Regions from separate parts of the Homo sapiens genome. Here region 1 is linked to region 2. Evidence: promoter capture Hi-C in 16 types of primary human blood cells and fetal thymus (Javierre and others, 2016). All regions are on one chromosome and are shown on one strand. The core of a region is centred on a gene start or on the middle of the fragment in contact, and the rest is flanking DNA. Distances in the headings are between cores, read along the strand shown. Region 1 has its middle 80 kb from the start of MIR8079. Region 2 holds the start of EPSTI1 (epithelial stromal interaction 1).

Region 1 (4,458 bases), core at 658-3,157, 1.3 Mb before region 2:
CCAGGCTTGGTGGATCATCTTCTGTGCTTCATACTCTCCTTGTCCCTTCTGGTCAGAGCTAGGGTTGACAGACTCTTTCATGCAGGATGCTTGTTTTGTGTACAGAAACTTCTAGACTTGACATCAGGAAATGCTCATATTTAACTTCAAACACAATTCTGATCAGTAGTTTCTACGGAGTTTGGCATCCCTAGAAAACATGCTGCAAACTGCTGTCTTCCTATTTTGCTCATGACCCCAAGGCTTGCTCTGCACATCTGCTGTTTGTCTCTCTGTAACATATATACTCTGCCTTTCGTGTTGCATTCTCTGTTGAGATTTGGATCCTGCCCAAGCAGCACGAGGGGCCTTTGGAGCTCTCTGGGCAGGAAGTCACATCCTGTGCAGGAGCCAAGTTGAAATGGCTTCCGATTTGGGGCAGAAACTTGGGTACACAGACATTTTGTGAAACCATTGATGTTTCTACTTGCAAATATTTCTGCAAACAGGAACAATTTCTGTTAACTTTCCATGACCTGTGTCACAGAGGCATGATGCCTGTCTGCTATTTGTTCATTTGGCAAATATTTACTAGATATCTTTTATACGACAGCCACAGTTCCAAGTTTTTTCAACACCAAGATGAATAAAATACAGCATTTGTCCTTCATGAGCCTGTGGTATTGTTGGGGATGATATGCATCTAAATAGGCCTAAGTGCATTGTGACAGATGTTCTACCTTCTCATATGGTGACATACTGTACAGTAAAGCCTTCTGCAGGTGACGAGGAGGAGCCCCCTAACTATCTGAGGAGGTAGGGATAGACATCCTGAAGGGTGTGACATTTAAACTGGGTCTTGAAAGTTGAGTGAGAATTCTCTTGGTAGGAAATGGGGTAGGGTAGGCATTCAAGGTAGAGAGAAGAGTTTGTGTAAAAGCTCAGAGGAATGGAACTGCATAGAGTTTGGGTGGAAATACAAATTGTTTGAGATGCCTGGAACAAAGGTTTTGGTGCGTGTATGTGTATGTTATGGGAGGGGGAGGGTGGTGGAATCTCACACTAGAGGGAAGGAGGCTGAAGATCCTGAAGAGGCTCAGAGACTTCAGGCCATGCAGACACAACTGTATACCACTCCTTCTATCTTTGGGCTATGGTGCTTTGCTTCCCCATTTCCTTTCCCCTCCCCTCCCCTCCTCTCCCCTTCTTTCCTCTTCCCTCCCTTCCCTTTCCCTTCCCTCCCCTTCACTTCCCTCCCCTTCCCTCCCCTTCACTTCCTTCCCCTTTCCTCCCCTTCCCTCCCTTCCCCTCCCTTCCCCTCCCTTCCCTTCCCCTCCCTTCCCTTCCCCTCCCTTTCCCCTCCTCTCCCCTTCACTTCCTTCCCCTTTCCTCCCTTTCCTCCCTTTCCATCCCTTCCCCTCCCTTCCCTTCCCCTCCCTTTCCCCTCCTCTCCCCTTCCCTTCCGTTACCCTCCCTTCCCCTCCCTCCCCTTTCCCTCCTCTCGCCTCTCCTCCTCTTCCCTTCCTTTTCCTTCCCCTTCCCTACCCCTTCTTCCCTTCCCTTCCTTCTCTCTTTCTTCCTTTCCCTCCCTCTTTCCCTTCCCCTTCTTTCCTTCCCTTCCATCTCTCTTTCTTCCTTTCCCTCCGTCTTTTCCTTTCTTTCTTCCTTCCTTTGTTCAGCATTATAATTCACATACCATACATTTTACCCATTTAAAGTGTACAATTTGATGGATTTATATTCACAAAGTTGGGCAACCATCATCATAATAAATTTTATTATATTTTTATCACTTCCAGAAGAAACCTTGTACCCTTTAGCTATTATCCCTCAACCTCCTATCCTTCCAGCCCTAAACAACCAAATTTTTTTTTGTCTCTGTGGATTTACCTATTCTGGACATTTCTTAGAGATGGAATTGGGACTTACAGTTTCTGGTTAGGCATGTAAGGAGTTTGGAAGTCACCACTCCATCCTAAGGAATAAAAAGCTGAACAAACGGAAACATCCACAACTCTTTAGATCCATCAGAGAATTGAGATCACAGGGCAAACTGCTGTCCTCTAAATTGTAGAGGCAGACAGGTAGACACGGAGAATCACAACTTACAGAAGCTGAAACCAGGAGAAGAACCCTCCACAGGGAACAGCGCTGAAGTAGTTAAAACTGGAACTATAACCAACAAATTGCTGGCGGCTCAGTATGGACAAGTCTCAGAGTGAAAAACTCCAGGACGACTGGGTCATAGGGGTTCTGCATACTTCTGTGAGTTTTAACTTCTGGGGCTCAACCAGGTTCTCACAGTGACTATCAGAGAAAAATCTTCTCATTCATTCAGCAGGAGATTGGGAAAAGGAACCATTTTAAAATACAACAGAACATTCTGTTCTTAACAAGGTCTGCACTCAGGAGAAACTGTTTTACCAGAGCATAAACTATTGGGGTTTATCAGACCCTAACTGACTTAGAGGATGGGAAACACCCAACTCCAGCCCACTGTAGCCATCTTGTCCCGCCTAAAGGGGGCTGGGCTGAGAACACCTGTGAAGTTCACAGTTCGCAGGCAGAGGCTCACTAAATTAAGACCTAATTATAGGACTACAGATTACTTCCCCTCCCCACACCTCGCCACCACATTATTAAAGGCCTGTTTACAGCAGTTCCTTTTACCCAGTATATCATACCCAGCTATCAAGAAAATTAAGTTAAAAAAAAAATATTACCAGGCATACTAAAACTGAAAAAAACACAGTTTGAAGAGCCAGAGCAAGCCTCAGAACCAGACTCACATGTGGCAGAGATGTTGGAATTATTAGATCAGGAATTTAAAACAAATATGATTAATATTTGACTCTACTGGATAAGTAGACAGAGAGCAAGAACAGATAAGGCAATGTAACCCAGGAGATGGGAATTCCAAGAAACAAGAGAAAATGCTTCAAAAACACTTCAACAGAAATAACAAATGTCTTTGATGGGCTCATTGGTAGACTAGATAAGGCTGAGGAAAGAATTGCTTGAGGATATCTCAACAGAAACTTCCAAACTGGAAAGAAAAAGATGGAAAAAATTAGACCAGAAAATCCAAGAACTGAGGGACAGCTATAAATATGTAACATGTAGATGGAATCATACAGTATGTGGCCCTTTTTAAATGGTTTCTTCCACTTAGCAAGTTTTTTTTTTTTTTTTTTTGCAGCTGCAGAGTCAACAGCAGTCCTATTTCCCCTAAATTTGCAAAGGGATAGTGAGCTCATGGGAGAGAAAAAGAAAACAGGAAAACAGTGATGGGGTATTTGGGGACTGAAAATGCAAAACTAAATAGATGCAAAGTTCATTTTAAGACATTTTCTTCCTGGGACCATGGCTTACTCCCCAGGTGTAAATATTTCTCTTATCAAAAGACTTCCTTTTGTTTTGGGCAATGGGTAATTTATCTGGAGTCCTTTGGCCTCTAGATTATGTCTTAGTATACCGGTTGGTAGAGAGTCCCTCTCTTTCCCGCTGTTGTGTTGACATGGCCTCCATTAAACACCACAGAATTTAGGATTTGTGCTGCTTGCTTCTTTATGAGGCTGGTGCCTGATAGTGGGGCCACACAAAACTGCTTCCCCTCCAGAACAAACTTGATGAGCTGATAAGTGATATAGCCATGCCCGGTACTGTTTTCATAAGTGGGTTAAATTCACATTTGCAAATTCAGTAGAGCAGCCCTTGTCCATCTCACTGTGTCGCTGTGCAGAGGAGCTGAGTTCTGAAAAGCTCTGGTTTCCTTCTCTGTAAGCCTTGCTGGCACATTTTCAAAGACCACATCAGTCAGTGTGAGTGGTCCTGGGTCCTTTCCATGCAGCTGGCTCAGAGTTTTACAGACCCTGTAACAGAATCTCATAAAGACTGGCTGCCATTTGGGGTTAAAGTCTGGTGCTTCTCCCTCTTTTCTTGTATGAAGATTTGATTTTTAGATTTGTTTGGAAAATGACTTTGTTAGCCTAAATCATCTTAGGCTTCAATGTTAAAATAGAGTGGAATATGCAGTAGTTGACTCATACTATTGTAGCTAGACAACTTGTCACTTAATACTTCATGACTTTAGGGATTGGTTAAATTAATAATTTTATAAGGCACATAGACGCCAGAGAGCTTCCTCCATTTTGTTCTTTTCTCTAGCAATGTGCGTCATCATTACACCCCTACCAAATAGTGTATTTTAGAACCTGTTATGCATAACTCTGCCTCTGCTTTCACTTTCTGTTTCCCTCTCTCTCTGCCTCTCCCTCGGCCTCTATGTCTCTTTCATTCACTCTTACTTATATATACTAAAATATTGCAAATTCGCTCCCTAATAATTAGGAAGTTTTTTGCATGTGGCTTGAGGTTGTCCTTCAAAGGTTTTAAATATGTGTTGATGAGAATAGGCATAGGGAGGCAGGTGTGGGACAGCAGATGGAAGGGATGCTCTGTGTTCAAAGATCCCACCCT
Region 2 (4,981 bases), core at 2,345-4,844:
AAATTAGGCAGTGGCCTAGTGAGTAGAAGAGATAAGGGGCTAAAGTACTTGGCTAAATAGGGATAGGGGCCCAGGACCCTCCCCACTCACCTCTGCTTCTCTCCACCAGCCACTACTATAGAAAAACGCACCCAAGAACAACTCCAGTAAAAGGCCAGCCCTTATTTTCGCCCAAATGCACACACCTACGGTGAAAGAATGGATGATACACAAGTAGCCCATTCTCGGGCATCCAAAAGGAGCCTGTAGATGTCTGTTGCCATAATAAATCACATTCACTTTTTTTTGTTGTTGTTGTTGAGACGGAGTCTCGCTCTGTCACCCAGGCCGGAGTGCAGTGGCATGATTTCGGCTCACTGCAAGCTCCGCCTCCCGGGTTCACGCCATTCTCCTGCCTCAGCCTTCGGAATAGCTGGAACTACAGGCGCCCACCACCACGCCCGGCTAATTTTTTGTATTTTTAGTAGAGACAGGGTTTCACCGTATTAGCCAGGATGGTCTCGATCTCCTGACCTCGTGATCCGCCTGCCTCGGCCTCCCAAAGTGCTGGGATTACAGGTGTGAGCCACCGCATCCAGCCTCACATTCACATTTTTTAAAACACTTTGAGAATGTGGCAAAACAAGAAGTGAATGGAGTGAGAAATCTCAGGTAAAACAAGAAGTGAATGGAGTGAGAAATCTCAGGTTTGAAACTTTGGTGTGACATGTGGTTGTGTTGTGAAACAAATATGGTTAACTAAGTATATTCTTGAGGCCAACATCCCTATTACTAGCTCCTTTAGGAGAATCAGTTTTCCCCCAGTGTGGGTTTTCCCTTCCTCAAACTTTAAATTTCATCCAACCACCAAAATAATTTTCTCCTTTGAAACAAGAGTTCCAGGGGTATTTTCCTAGTAAAGAACAATGTGGAAGATGGCCTCCAGAAAGGCCCTGCTGTTCCTCTTTTTTGTTGATCTCTAGGTCTGCGTTTCTCACCCCGCTGGTACCTTACACCCAACAGCACCTAAACAGACTTTTAGAACTTCCCTCAAAGCTTGTCCCTCCTCTAGGTTAATGGTTCTACCTCGTATCCAGTCACAAAGCTAAAAGTCACCATAAAGACAGCAACCATTAAATTACTGGGGCTATAAGGTAGGCATACTGTGAAGATCAGGATTTTTCAACTTCAACACTGTTGACACGTGGGGCAGGACAACTCTTTGTCATGTGGGCCTATTCTGTGCATTGTAGGATGTTTAGGAGCATCCCCGGCCTTTACACACTAGATGCTAGCAGCACCTACCCACTTTGAGGCTTCACAATCAAAAATATGTCCAGGCATTGCCAGATGTCTGCTAGAGGAAAAATCAACTCCATTTGAGAACCACTGATGTGGATGATCTCTATTCCTCACAATACCCACATGAGGCAGAGGAGGAAACTGGATCTCTGAGGAATTAAGAGATTTGGCCTTGGTTGTGTGGCCAGTATGTGGCAAAGCTGGTCTCAAAGCACTATAAAAGCCATCTCCCCTTCTCTCTGCTGCCTTCCAGTACTCAATTCTCTCTTTCATCTAGTTTTTATCTATGCTAATCTCTCATGTGAAATGTCTTTTATGTTTTATTTATTTGTTTTGTAGAGATGAGGTCTTACCATGCTGCCCAGGCTGGCCTTAAACTCCTGGCCTCAGGTGATCCTCCTGCCTCAGCCTCCAAAAGTGCTGGGATTACAGGCATGAGCAACTGAGCCTGGCCCATGTGAAATGTCTTGATTTTGCTCCCCACTTTCTGGGTTGCCTTAGCTCAGATCTGTATTTCTTACCTAGACGTAACTAGGCTCTGAATTTATCTTCCCGATTTCAGTCTCTTCATCTTTCAATCTCCGTTTTCACATTGTTAGAAGCTAACTTTGTAAAACAGATATTATTGAGTAACTGCCCTATTGAAAAACTTCCTGTGCCTTCCACATTGCCTACAACAGTGGTTCCCAAAGGGTGATCCTGAGACTGGCATCATTGGTATCACCTGGAAATTTGTTAGAAATGCAAATCCTTGGGCCCCATCCCAGACCTGAATCAGAAACTATATATATATATTTTTGAGATGGAGTCTCTCTCTGTCGCCCAGGTGGAGGTGGGGTTTCGCCACGTTGGCTAGGCTGGTCTTCAACTCCTGATCTCCAGGTAATCCTCCTGCCTCGGCCTCCAAAAGTACTGGAATTACAGGAGTGAGCCACCGTGCCTGGCCATAAATCTGTTTTAACGCACCCTCCTCCAAGTGGTTCTGATGCTTACTGAAATTTGTGAAACTCTGGCCTACTCTACAAAACCCTAATGTCTTAGGATGGCATAGAAATCCTGACTGACTTTCCTACCATGTTCCTTGTCATTATTTTCTCCTCTCCTGTCCCACCCTGGCCCACCCTTCAATTTCATTCTTTCATTAGCTATCAAACCTGTATGTGTCTTTTTGTTCTAAGCACCAATAATATAAGGAAGACAGTCCAGCTCCTAACTGTCTTGCTGACCTAGGACTGGGGTGCTCCAGCCACATGACAACCCCTGGAATTAAGTACACACCATGTCATTTTAAGTGACAAGCCTCTGCCATAGCATCTCCTTCTTCTTGGTGAATTCCTATGTCTTTGGTGGCTCATTCTCAAATGTCCCTGTTCCTGAATTACTCAGAGGGCTAATCCCCAGTTTCTCTGTGCCTCCACAGCTGCCTGTCATTTCATTTATCCCAAAGTGGCATTCCCATTTGTTTACCTGTCTACTAGGATACTCCTAGAATGCAGGTAGCATGAGGGAAGAGCCTTCACTCATCTTTGTGTAGACGGCATTGTGACCCTGGTGACCAACCCTGGCACACATCAGAATCATCTGGGAGCTTTTCAAAAATATGAATGCCAGAGCTCACCCCTGAACCTACAGGAACTGAGCCTTACACATCCATATTTTAAAATGTCCCCACATCACCGTTGCACACTGTTCTGCACAGAGCAGGTATTTTTAATAGTTCTCGAATGTCTAGTCAATTACTTAGCAAGGCTGCCTGGAGAATCATGTCTACCTTAGCTTACTTCTCCGGCTTTGTAGGTTTTTGTTTTCTTTTGATTTCAGTTTCCATTTCCTCTAACTTGAAAGTATGTGCATTGGTAACAGCCACACAGCAGTCATTACTGATAAAAGGCGACATTTTGTTGAGATGATTTTAGTTATTGACCTAATCTCTGGTATTTTAAGGTTAATATATTTTTTACAGTCTCAAATATCCAGCGGTAACCTCAAATTAGAGTTGCCTGTTAAACAGTTTCTCAAGTATCTTTCAGGATTGTAGTCACTCTGCGGGCTAATCGCTCACCAGGTGTCCGTGGCTGATCCCAGTTATTCTGATTAACCTCTAAGGTGATTGTGAGACTTTAAACCGTCTCACCTGTAGCCGACCAAGCCAGCTCAAGTCAACATCCTGGGCTGTTAACCCGCGATAAGGTCGGACGGGGCCTCAGTGGAGAATACGTGGGGAAGTTCTCTGGGGCGGGCGCAGTCTGCTGCTGATTCTGAGAAACCGAAACTCAGCTGTTAAAACCGCTGCCTCTGCACTTTGGAATCCCATCTTGAGACTCGCTAAGCGTCCCAGCCGCATCCCTCCCGCAGCGACGGCGGCCCGGGACCCGCGGGCTGTGAACCATGAACACCCGCAATAGAGTGGTGAACTCCGGGCTCGGCGCCTCCCCTGCCTCCCGCCCGACCCGGGATCCCCAGGACCCTTCTGGGCGGCAAGGGGAGCTGAGCCCCGTGGAAGACCAGAGAGAGGGTTTGGAGGCAGCCCCTAAGGGCCCTTCGCGGGAGAGCGTCGTGCACGCGGGCCAGAGGCGGTGAGTATTTTAACAACCTGGCTTCGGGGCGGGAGCCCGGGCCCCAAACATACTCACTCACAAGCACCTTGGTCCTTGGAGTTTAAAACCACAGGGGCCCAACAACAGGGATTTTGACTGAATGAAAGCTCATTTGCTTAAATGAAAGTATCCATGCCGCACCTTATAAATTGAGTCGGCTAGTTTGCAGTCCTTTGGTAAATAACCAGCCCGGTTCCTTCCAGGAATACTACTTTCCTGATTTTTGTGACTGGCTACAGGATTGAAAGATATGGGTGTGTCGGAACTGCCTAGGCATCCAGTAAGATGTCATTTTCCAGGTATCTCCAGAACTCATACTCCAACCAGTATGGAAATAACTTTTCCCTTACTGTTTTTAAAAATTTGGTGCTGGGCCAGGCGCGTTGGCTCAAGCCTGTTATCCCAGCACTTTGGGAGGCCAAGGCAGGCAGATCACCTGAGGTCAGGAGTTCGAAACCAGCCTGGCCAACATGGTGAAACCCAGTCTTTACTAAAAATAAAAAATAAGCTGGGTGTGATGGCACGTGCCTGTAGTCCCAGCTACCTGGGAGGCTGAGGTAGGAGAATCGCTTGAACCCGGGAGGCGGAGGTTGCAGTGAGCGGAAATTGCGCCATTGCACTCCAGCCTGGGCAACAGAGCGAGACTGTCTCAAAACAAAACAAAACAGAAAAACAAAACTTGGTGTCCTAAACGGAATTACTGTATCAGACACTAACAGGTAAGGGTCAACAAGAAATGTGATATGGGGTAGAAGGTTCAAATTCTGCCTCTAGGTAGGAGCAAGCCTACGTCCCAGCAAGACTCGCAGATAAACTAGCCTCTTACAACCAGAGGAGTGGAGCTGAGAGAGTGAGGAGGTGAGTGACCATAGTACCTCTCATCCCTGATGTTGATATGTGCTCTATGCAGGAACAGATAGGTAGCTTTTATTCCTGGTCTTTGGTTCAGGGACTGCAGTGAGTATCCGGGAAACATTTATTAAGCAAGTGTCATGAGCCTCTCTTTCTAGCCAATGGAATGAACTTTAACTCAACAGTATGGTTTATCACAACATCACTGCCTTTGAAGTGCTGCCTCTGTGAATTGGAACTGTCCAGATGGT

The links. The method cuts DNA at HindIII sites, captures the fragments that hold promoters and counts their contacts. A CHiCAGO score of 5 or more calls a contact.
Region 1: a fragment that was not itself captured here is called in contact with the fragment with the promoter of EPSTI1 in region 2 in 1 of 17 cell types (naive CD4 T cells); the score reaches 5.1 in naive CD4 T cells.

What each region holds. Positions count from the first base shown.
Region 1 is chr13:44,274,308-44,278,765 of GRCh38, reverse strand. No RefSeq gene overlaps it. Among named protein-coding and RNA genes, the nearest start is that of MIR8079, 80 kb to the right of the region's middle. RefSeq lists an enhancer at 4,125-4,304. The HindIII fragment of the contact is 5,130 bases long and covers 1-4,458 here.
Region 2 is chr13:42,990,854-42,995,834 of GRCh38, reverse strand. It overlaps EPSTI1 (epithelial stromal interaction 1), which reads left to right and starts at 3,594. Exons shown (of 11, transcript NM_033255.5): 1 at 3,594-3,857. The coding sequence starts at 3,670. RefSeq lists enhancers at 2,961-3,200, 3,461-3,580. The HindIII fragment of the contact is 6,494 bases long and covers 1,038-4,981 here.